2 separate regions of the Homo sapiens genome follow, and region 2 is linked to region 1. The links are contacts of gene promoters, found by promoter capture Hi-C in blood cells and fetal thymus (Javierre and others, 2016). All regions are on one chromosome and are shown on one strand. The core of a region is centred on a gene start or on the middle of the fragment in contact, and the rest is flanking DNA. Distances in the headings are between cores, read along the strand shown.

Evidence for each region. The method cuts DNA at HindIII sites, captures the fragments that hold promoters and counts their contacts. A CHiCAGO score of 5 or more calls a contact.
Region 2: a contact is called between a fragment that was not itself captured here and the fragment with the promoter of CCDC170 in region 1, in 2 of 17 cell types (M0 macrophages and M1 macrophages). The highest score is 7.0, in M0 macrophages.

Annotation. Positions count from the first base shown.
Region 1 is chr6:151,491,963-151,497,113 of GRCh38, forward strand. CCDC170 (coiled-coil domain containing 170) reads left to right here and starts at 2,055. Exons shown (of 11, transcript NM_025059.4): 1 at 2,055-2,223. The coding sequence starts at 2,167. LOC124901436 (a long non-coding RNA gene) reads right to left here. Exons shown (of 2, transcript XR_007059817.1): 2 at 4,445-5,102. The HindIII fragment of the contact is 3,463 bases long and covers 1,193-4,655 here.
Region 2 is chr6:151,685,344-151,690,642 of GRCh38, forward strand. It overlaps a transcript of ESR1 not described here. Among named protein-coding and RNA genes, the nearest start is that of ESR1, 120 kb to the right of the region's middle. The HindIII fragment of the contact is 4,007 bases long and covers 904-4,910 here.

The sequences.
Region 1 (5,151 bases), core at 805-3,304:
ACTACAACTTAAAAATGTGTTTACTCCAAATTGTACTATTAATAGGAGATTTCTGAAAGCCTAAGTTTTCATTAAGAACTTTTTCTTTAACGGTGCATCAAGTGAAAGCCTTGAGATGATTCTGGATTAGATATATGGCAAAGTTACCGTGAGCTCAAAAGCCATTGTCCAGATGAAGAAATCCTCAGGGTCAATATGAATGCACATAGGATGACTGATGGAATCCAAGAAAAGCTGCCATAGCTCTGATTTTGCCTTTTTGTGTTGTCTTTAGAGACATGCTCTTGCTCTGTCGCCCAGGCTGGAGTGCAGTGGTGATCATAGCTCACTGCAGCCTTGACCTCCTGGGCTCAAAGCTATCCTCCTGCTTTAGCTTTCTTTTTTTTTTTTTTTTTTAAGATGGCGTCTTGCTCTGTCACCCAGGCTGGAGTACAGTGGTGCTATCTCAGCTTATTGCAACCTCCGCCTCCCAGGTTCAAGCGATTCTCCTGCCTCAGCCTCCCAAGTAGCTGGGATTACAGGCATGTGCCACCACACCTAGCTAATTTTTGTATTTTTAGTAGAGACAGGGTTTCACTATGTTGGCCAGGCTGGTCTCGAACTCCTGACCTCAGGTGATCCACCTGCCTCAGCCTCCCAAAGTACTGGGATTATAGGTATGAGCCACCTCACCTGGCCCCGCCTTAGCCTTCTGAGTAGCTAGGACTACAGGTGTGCACCACCATGCCTGGCTAATTTAAAAAAAAAAAAAAAAAACTTGTAGAGATAGAGTCTTGCTGTATTGCCCAGGCTGGTCTCAAACTCCTGGCCTCAAGCAATCCTCCCACCTGTTTGATTTCATGTGTCTCAAACAGCATAGGAGTCTACTAAAGGCTTTTTTCTTTTTTTTTTTTTTTTTTTTTGAGGCAGATTCTTGCTCTGTCACCCAGGCTGGAGTGCAGTGGCTCAATCTTGGCTCACTGCAACCTCTGCCTCCCAGGTTCAAATGATTTTCCCTGCCTCAGCCTCTCAAATAGCTGTATTACAGGTGTCCGCTACCACGCCCGGCTAATTTTTGTATTTTTAGTAGAGACAGGGTTTCACCTTCTTGGCCAGGCTGGTCTCAAACTCCTGACCTCAAGTGATCCACCCATCTCAGCCTCCCAAAAGTGTTGGGATTACAGGAGTGAGCCACCGCGCCTGGCCCACCAAAAGCTTTAAAGTGAGGTGAATGCAGATTCCATTTTCAGATTCTGCTACAAATTGTGGGACCTTAAACAAGTTACTCATCTTCTCTGTGCTTTAGTGTTATGATCTGGAGCCTGATCTTCATTCTACCACTTACCCTGTACATCTTGGAAATTTTATTTTATTTCCCTGTGACTGTTGCCTTGTCTTGCAGATGGATTATTCTAACATCCACTTCATAATCTTGTTTCATTTAAGGAGATTGATCATACGTGGGAAGCACTTAGAACAGTGCATGGACGAGCACGAGTATTTCATAATGAGCAGCTGTGGCTGTTACTAACACTGGTATTACTAGTACCCGTACTTCCAGGCAGGGTTGTTGAGAAGGTGAAATGAAAGAACGCACACCAGGGCAGGCTACATAATTTGTGGACCCCGGTACAGAATGAAAATGCAGGACACCTTGTTCAAAACTTCCTAAAAACGTCAAGACTGGGACAGCTGAGTATTAAACCAAGCGCAGGACCCGGACCTGCACAGGTTGCACGCTCGCAGACACATTTGCACACAGTGTGTGCTAAATAAATGCTCCGTTCACCCTTGTGAAGTTTCCTATGCCTCACTCGCGCCAGCACCGTTCACAGTGCCCACTGGCTGTATTTATCGCTGACATAAGGATGAGGCCTGGAATTGCATTCACTGCAGAGTCCCACCGGGAGGACCGACCGTTATCCCCGCCGACTCCCCCCAGGTCGCCCTGGCAGTTTCGGCCGCTCAGTTGCAGGCCCTCGCCACGGAGGCCACGCTCGGGGGTTCGGGGTCCACCCCGGCCTCCTGCGGCCGGGCCACCCTACTCGCGCGCAGCCGCGCGCCGCCGCGTCCCCGCGGTGTTTACCCGTTGCCCGAGGAGACACCCGCGCCACCCGCCGGCTCCCGGCGCCGCCGCTTCCTCAGGGCCGGTTCCGGGTCCGAGCGCGCCCCCGGGCTCGGGTCGTCATGAGCCTGGACTGCACCAGCCATATCGCGCTGGGTGCCGCTTCGCCAGCGCCCGAGGTACGGTCCCAGCCGCCGGCCGCGCGCGGGGGTGGCCCTGGGGATAGACGACCCAGGAGGGGCCGAGGCGCCCCTGATTTGCACCCTTTTCCTCCCGGAGGCGTGGGCAGAATCAGAGCAGCTCTGTGCCCGCGAGGGCTGTGGCCTGGGACTGCCAGGGCGCTGATTTCAGGAGGGGATGGGCAGGACCGGAGTTTGCGGAGCGCGTCTGAATTTTAGGTTGTGCCACTCTGCTTCTCTGACCATTTAAACCGGTGACATTCGAAAGACTGTGGCCGGGCAGTTCCTCCCCGCCACCCCTGGGAGCAAAGAATTCCTTCATTTAACTTTCCCTGCTTAGCTACTGAAGTGTGCTTCGGAGCAATTTCTGGAAAATCTGATGTGGCAGGAGGAGGGCCAGCCCGGAGTAGAGTCACCGGCCCTTTCGTTGCGAAGTAATCCAGAAACGTTGGTAATTCAGTTGTTCCTGAATGCATCTACTCATTTACTCCCAGGAGTTACTTAGGTACTGGGGACTTTCAGGTATTAGATGTACCAATGCGCGCGCGCACACACACACGAACATGCGCGCATACACAGACGCTCGTGCACACACGCGAACAGGCACATACGCGAACAAACACGGGCGCGCACACACACGAACACGGGCATATGCATACTTGGGCGCACAAGAAGATCTGGCTGGCTCAGTCTGGGTTAAGAATCCCCCTTTGGCCTTGGCATCGGGGCCCACCGGGTATCGTGTGTATTGGGAGTAGTTGCCAGAGATGGGGGAATTGTGTTCAGCTCAACTGCTAACCGCAAGTAACTCACCCAATTAGTAAATGATGGAGGATTTTTCTTTCTTTCCAAAGTTTTGGACTTTTCCTACCACGCTGTGTACTGACCATAGATATCCCTGGGGGATGTAGTGGATTCAAAACATGAGTTGGATTCTCCAACGTGCCATCGGAATTCTTCTAATATTCAGCAGCTTTGATTGTTGTTTTACATCTGACCTGTATTTAGATTTCTCTGATTCCTGGAATATTTGTGGAAAATAAGTACCACTGTGTGCAAATAAAACTATTTTTTCTTTCTTTCTAACTCAGAGGCCAGTTACTAGATGTTTTTTCTTTCATCTGACATTTTCATATTTGACTTTATTAATTTTTATCCCAATGTGGTGTCTTAACCATACATAAGTATGTGGTATTTTTATATTATTAATATATATTTTTTTTGGTGAGCCCATTGAGAGTAAATTACAGCCATCATGATTCTTTCTTTCTCTCTCCTTTTTTTCTCTTGTTCTCTCCCTCCCTCCTTTTCTTTCTTTCTTCTTTTTTTCAGACAGGGTCTCACCTTGTTACCCAGGCTCGAGTGCAGTGGCACGATCTCGGCTCGCCGCCGCCTTGACACCCCTGGGTTCAAACGATCCTCTCACCTCAGCCTCCAGAGTAGCTGGGACTCCAGGCATGCCATGATGCCTGGATAATTTTTGTGTTCTTTGCAGAGGCAGAGTTTTATCGTGTTGCTCAGGCTGGTCTCAAACTCCTGAGCTCAAGCGATCCACCTGCCTCAGACTCCCAAAGTGCTGGGATTACAGAGATGCACTACCATGCCTGGTCCCCTATGACCTTTCATCTGTAAATACTCTGGTGTGTTATCTCCTATGAATAAGGGCATTCTCTAACGAACATACAATGATCAAAATCGGGATGTTTAGCATTGTGACAATAATATTATCTAATATACACGACCTACTAAAACTTTGCCACTTGTCCCAATTATGCCATTTATTGCCAATTTTTTTTCCATCTCAGGATCACACACTGTATTTAGTTATGTCTCCAGTCTCTTCAAACCTGGAACAGTTCTTCACATTTTTTTTGTTTGTTTTTTTGTTTGTTTGTTTTTGTCTTTGATGATACTGACATTTTTGCAGAGTCCAGGTCATTCGTTTTATAGAGTAAGTTTCTCTGATTGTCCTTCGTGATTAGATTTTTGGGTAGGAATAACATAAGAGATGTTATGTCTCAGAGTATCACATCAGGAGGGGCATATATCAGCTTATCCCATTATTGGTGATGTCCCCAGCTGGTGGCCTCTGCCAGATTTTTCCCCTTTAGCAATAAATAAGAAATCATATTAGTTGAGTAATAATATTGATTCGGATAGAAATTTTTAGCATAAGTCACTGCCTACAAAAGGAAAATGTCCATTAAGCATGAGATTTTAATTGGCTTAAAATAACTAAATTTTATTGAGAACAAAAGTAGCTGCAGAAAAGGCAGCATTTATTACAATTAAATGTTCAGTTTGCAAAATACTTTATCTGAGATCATCTTATAATTTAGATAGGCGGGGCAGAAATTTCTCACTATATAAGATGAGGAAATAGCTTACTGGATTAGAAATGATGGAGCAGGGACTTGTATCTTTCTTTCAAAAGCTTTGTACTTTTCCTACCATGCCAGACTGAAAACATTAAATTACAAAGCAGTGATAGTCTGCAACTTTCTGGAAAAGTAAAATACTGTAGAGACTGAGATACTAGTTTTAGACTCAAAACTAGATTCAAACAATCCTGATTATACCACTCATCTGTGACATCTTGGTCAAAACAATTAATGTATCAGCATTTTAGTTTTTTCTTCTAAAACATGGAATCATAAAACTTATCGCATAACGTAGTTTGAGGATTTCACGGTTAATAAATGTAAGGCACTCAAGAGAGTGTCTGACAGAATAAGTGCATATCAATATTAGCTATCGTTATTCTTTGTAACTTTTGGAATTTGCTTTGGTGTCAACACCACTGCACCTACTCCTACCATCATCACCAATGCTTCCATCAGTACTTCAGCCACCATCTCAATAGTCAGTGTTTTGAGAATCTGTAGGAGGGACAGAGGATACAAAAATGAATTGGAGATTGACCCTGCT
Region 2 (5,299 bases), core at 1,657-4,156, 190 kb after region 1:
AGGATGGTCTCGATCTCCTGACCTCATGATCCACCCGCCTCGGCCTCCCAAAGTGCTGGGATTACAGGCGTGAGCCACCGCGCCCGGCCACTGGCCTCTTGTCCTTAGAGGAAATATGTGAATTTCTCCTTTCTGCTCAGAAGTACACCTTAGTAGTTGACAAACGTAAACTACCCGAAGGGCCAGCCTTCTCTGGATCCTACTTGAGACCTTGCTTCCTGCTGAGAAGTGTGTGCATTTGTGTATCTGGTGATCGAGATGTCTGGAAGAGTGGGGAGAAGACTGAGGGGCAGATGGGGAGTAAGAAGGGTCAGAAAGCTATTTTGGTTCAGCAGTATCAATAATGTTTTTGCTTTAAATCATTGTCTTCTTCAATGTTGCTTCCTTTGTCACTCCTGTAAATATGATAGCCCATTTATTCTTCTAATAGAAAATTTTTCATAATTATTTCCTCACATAAGATGTTTATGGCTTTATATATATGTGTGTATATAAAGAGGAGGCACATAATTTATGAAAGCAGATTTTAAAAGCCTTTCTACAGATGAAATGTAAAGTTCAATTGCATTTTTTCTTTTGGAGATGGGTCTTACTCTGTCACTCAGGCAAAAGTGCAGCGGCACGAACGTGGCTCACTGCAACCTCAAACAGTTCTCCCACCACAGCCTCCAGGTAGCTGGGACCACAGACATATGCCATCACATCCAGCTAATTAAAACAATTTTTTTTTTTTTTTTTTTTTTTTATTTAGAGACGGGGTCTTTCTACATTGCTCAGGCTAGTCTTGAACTTCTAGGCTCAAATTTCTTGATTTCTTCCAAAAGTATTTTCTGCTTGACATTGTCATTTGAAGAAAGATAGTTTTAAAAAAATTTGAAGAAAGAGACTATTTTTATCCCTATAAGCTTGAACTAGGGCTTTCATACTGAGTAAAAGACAGTATACAGTGTCATTGAGGATGGGTCATATTATGGCTCCGTTGTCGAACACTCTAGATCTGGACACTGAAAAGTGGACTACTGATGGATTTTATGCCTCTGCTATAAAAACCAGCACCTGGGGCTGGACGCAGTGGCTCACGCCTGTAATCCCAGCATTTTGGGAGGCCGAGGCGGCCGGATCACGAGGTCAGCAGATCGAGACCATCCCGGCTAACATGGTGAAACCCCGTCTCTACTAAAAATACAAAAAGAAATTAGCCGGGCGTGGCGGCGGGCACCTGTAGTCCCAGCTACTCAGAAGGCTGAGGCAGGAGAATGGCGTGAACCCGAGAGGCGGAGCTTGCAGTGAGCCGAGATGGCGCCACTGCACTCCAGCCTGGGTGACAGAGCAAGACTCCATCTCAAAACCAACCAACCAACCAACCAACCAACCAACCAACCAACCAACCAGCACCTAGGCCCTGGATGCATGTTTAAGGTAGCTAAACACTCTTAGGTTACACTATTCTGATGGGAAAGACCACCAGAGGTGCCCTTGGATACCTGGTAATAAGGGCTATAGAAGAAATTATGGAAATTCTACAACCCTGTCAGTGACTATAGCCAACCATGCGGCTATAGCCAGACCCTGCAATGTGCTCATGGGTCCAGAGCCCCCTATGTGTTATCTCAGCTCATGGGCTTTCTCTGTTCCTGCATAACTTCACTTGCTAGGAGGCTTTCCTTACTTTGGCCTCCATGCCACCCTGAGACATGCCCTTGTCCTTTGCGGCTCATGACCTCAGTGCAGGTTTCCAAATTCATACCCTCAGAGCTTGAATGATTGGTCCAGTTCATCTTTTTCACATTTGGTCATGTCCTAGGTCACTGGCCAGTCTATAGTTTGGCTGATCTTTGGTTGGGTGTCTCACCATGGTCCAGTTAGCTGTGATCTGAAGTGGGCGTAGGGTGGGGAGGTTGTATGAACTTGAGTTGGTTGTTCAAGTAACAGGAGCTGAGAGCATGGCAATTTTCCTTAGAACGATAGTGAGTGAGTGGTCAGGTACTGATTGATATCTCCAGGTAAGCAGAGTTTCAATTTTGGTTGCTCTTCACGAGGAAAGCCAGAAGCCCAGAGCTGTTTTGCTAGAGTGATAGAACTGAGATAGTGTTTTGAGCAGTGCCCAGTGGGAACATCTTTGCTGAGAAGAACGAATAAAGAATTTTGGCAATTAACTATGTAACTGAGTCCCAGACTCTGCTATCATCTGGGGTGGCAGATAAAAACACACAGTCCAAATAAAAAACCTGATTTTTTATTTTAGCCTGAATCACCCAGATCACAGCAGGATTTTGCTTGAACAACCCAGACAGATTGCATCCATTTTCTGCTTTACTGTGCTTGTGGAAGCCAGGCTGTTAGTGGTTTCTTCTGGAATGGGAGAATGTATCACAAAAAGGTTGGAACCTGAAAAATTTCTAGAATTTCATTGTTCTGTGCTTCTTAATAAACAATGTGACACTACCAAGGAATGTGTGTTGACCCTCTTTTTTTAAAAAAATAAAGATGTAGTGGATAGCACGATTTTGATGAAATGTCAGGCTTTATTTTTCATTTGAAAAATGTGTGTGAGGGAATCAGGTGTAATGGCATGATACATCTCTTTAAATTATACTTACGAGATTAAATTTGTCCTGTGTTTCAATTACACTGTATTATACTGCTTCATTTAAATTGTTGTTTTCTTCTTTTTTAATTGTTCAACCTAATTGTCTAATAGTGATGAATGCAATTTAATTAGACACTTTTCCTTGAAGGATATATATATATTTTCCCTATAATAAAGCACAGAATAGTTTAAAAAATGTATTGGTCCAAGCACACATTTTTATTTTTAGTGATTTCATTAGAACAATAAACTTCAAAATGATTCATAACAACCTTTCTGGATTGATTTGATGGAACTGTTTTTACCCATTCACTGATAAACCTGTCAACAGTTTCCTCTCATGACACATACAAAGCACGTGTGTTCCCATAGTGTGTCCTTGTGTGTAATTCCTTGTGCTGGTTCAGATTCTGAAATGGAGCTTTAAAAGCATGGAGGCTTGAGTTGGTCCATGTGAGTTTGAACCCTGGCCGCAGCTGGTATGGGTACTTAATCTCAGTATCCCACGGTTTCCTCAACTGCAAAATGGGTTTTTAGTAGTACTTACCTCACTGGGTTGCTACAAAGATACTTAAACTAGTATCTGACATCTAGTACAGCCAGCCCTCCATATCTGTGGGTTCCACATCTGAGGATTCAATCAACCTCTGGTTGGATAAAAAATATCTAGGAAAATAGCTGCATACTAGGGGAAAAAAAAAAGAAAAAAATATCCAGGAAAAAAATTGTGCCAGTACTGAACATGACTTTGCTCTTTTCATTCTCTAAACAATATAGTATAACACATATTTACTTCACATTTACATTGTTTTAGGTATTATAAGTAATCTATGGATTATTTAAAGTATACAGGAGGATGTGCATAGGATATATGTAAATACTATGTGATTTTATATCAGGGACTTGTCCTGGAACCAATATCCCAACCCTAATACTAAGGGATGACTATATATGCTCAGAAGACATTTGTTGTCATTTTTATTCTCTTGCACTCAAGAAAGCACATATTGGAATGCAAACGAATATCAATAATAGTTTTTTAAAGGATAATTAAGTTAATTTATAATTTACATACAATATACATTGTACATTTATATTTTCTAATGAAAAGGAAATAATCTATAACCTTCAGTTCAGAATTCATTAGCTGTCCTATTTTGAGAACTGTTGCTCTATGTAATTTTCATCTCTGTATTGATGTGTAAAACTGGTTTTAACAGGTAGCTAAATGCTGTTTGAAAAGCATACTTCACCCATTCTGGCAACTAAAATAATTGAAAGATTTAATTAATTTAGAAAAAATATTTCGCTTTCAAAACACTTGAACTGTTCAGAGCATGTTATTCAATAATCTACCTTTCACCAGAAATCATAATAAACACAATAAAAATGCTTACAGAACCCCCACAATGCGTTAGTATACATGATTATTCCTTGTGTAAGTGAATCTTGTTGAGATTTTATGTTCAGTCAATTGCAATTAAATACTTTACATATTAACTAAAATGTGTCCTGCTCTATGTATTCTGGAGAAGTTACTCTCAGACAAATTTACATATTTAAATTATTTTATGGGCTAACTGATAAGTATAGAGAAGACTGAAGACAGTTAAGATCATTGATTTCAAAATGTTTTAAAGTGTTGATTATTTATTTTGGTTTTCTTTCTTTCCCATGCCAGTTTTGAGATGCACCTCTTACTTGGCAGGTGTTCCTCTGTACTGGGTACTGGGACAGAGAGAAATACAGTAGCAAGAGGGAGATCCTGCCTCCGCCCCATTCTACCATTCTCACTGCCAGAAAGCCAGCCTTTTTTCAAGGCTTGTAGAGAAGAAAAAGAGAAAATATTTTTAAAAATTCATTTAAAGTACCTACTGCATAAACCACACCAGACATGATGAGATATTAAAATGTCAATATTATTAAAAATTTTTAATATGATTTTACAGCCCCTTTGCTACTTTAAAATGTTTATCTTAGTGTTAAACAAACAATCAATAACCTCATAAACTTAAAAATTGCTGCAGGAAATACCGGACAGTTTATGGAAGGATCATATGACAGAAGGAAGGGCTGAAGAGTGTGAGAAGCTAGACCTCTGCAGGTTACCGAAGTCAAGAACCTCATTAATCGGTAACAAGAAGTGCAGAGCGGGCTTTTGAGTCCATGCCTGAGTAAGAAAGTCCCAAAAAACACTCACAGAAGATATTTCCTTGCCCCTGCTTTTAGTTTAGCTGTAGCTAACTTTGGATTAACAAAATTTATGTGCTGAATGATGTTTTATTTTTTTTTCCAACTCCACATGCCTGTCTAGACTTCAAGCTTTATTACGAATAAAGAGAAAATCGGCTGGATGGCATAAAAAATATTTCAGGCAGATTAACACATGATTTACCTCTTCTTGAACATCCATCTTAATGGAAGTGCTAAGAAAGTTAGATTCGGGCCTGGCTTGGCAAAAGCAAGGCCACCCCCTCCTCTATTTTTTCAATGAGATTTTCCAATCCTAGTCAAATGGTGGTGCTAGTTCTTTATTTTTGAGTTACTGCATTTCCTAATTTCATGGTCATAACAGCCTCCTGTCTACCGACTCAGAACGGATTTTACCAAAACTGAAAATGCAGGCTCCATGCTCAGAAGCTCTTTAACAGGCTCGAAAGGTCCATGCTCCTTTCTCCTGCCCATTCTATAGCATAAGAAGACAGTCTC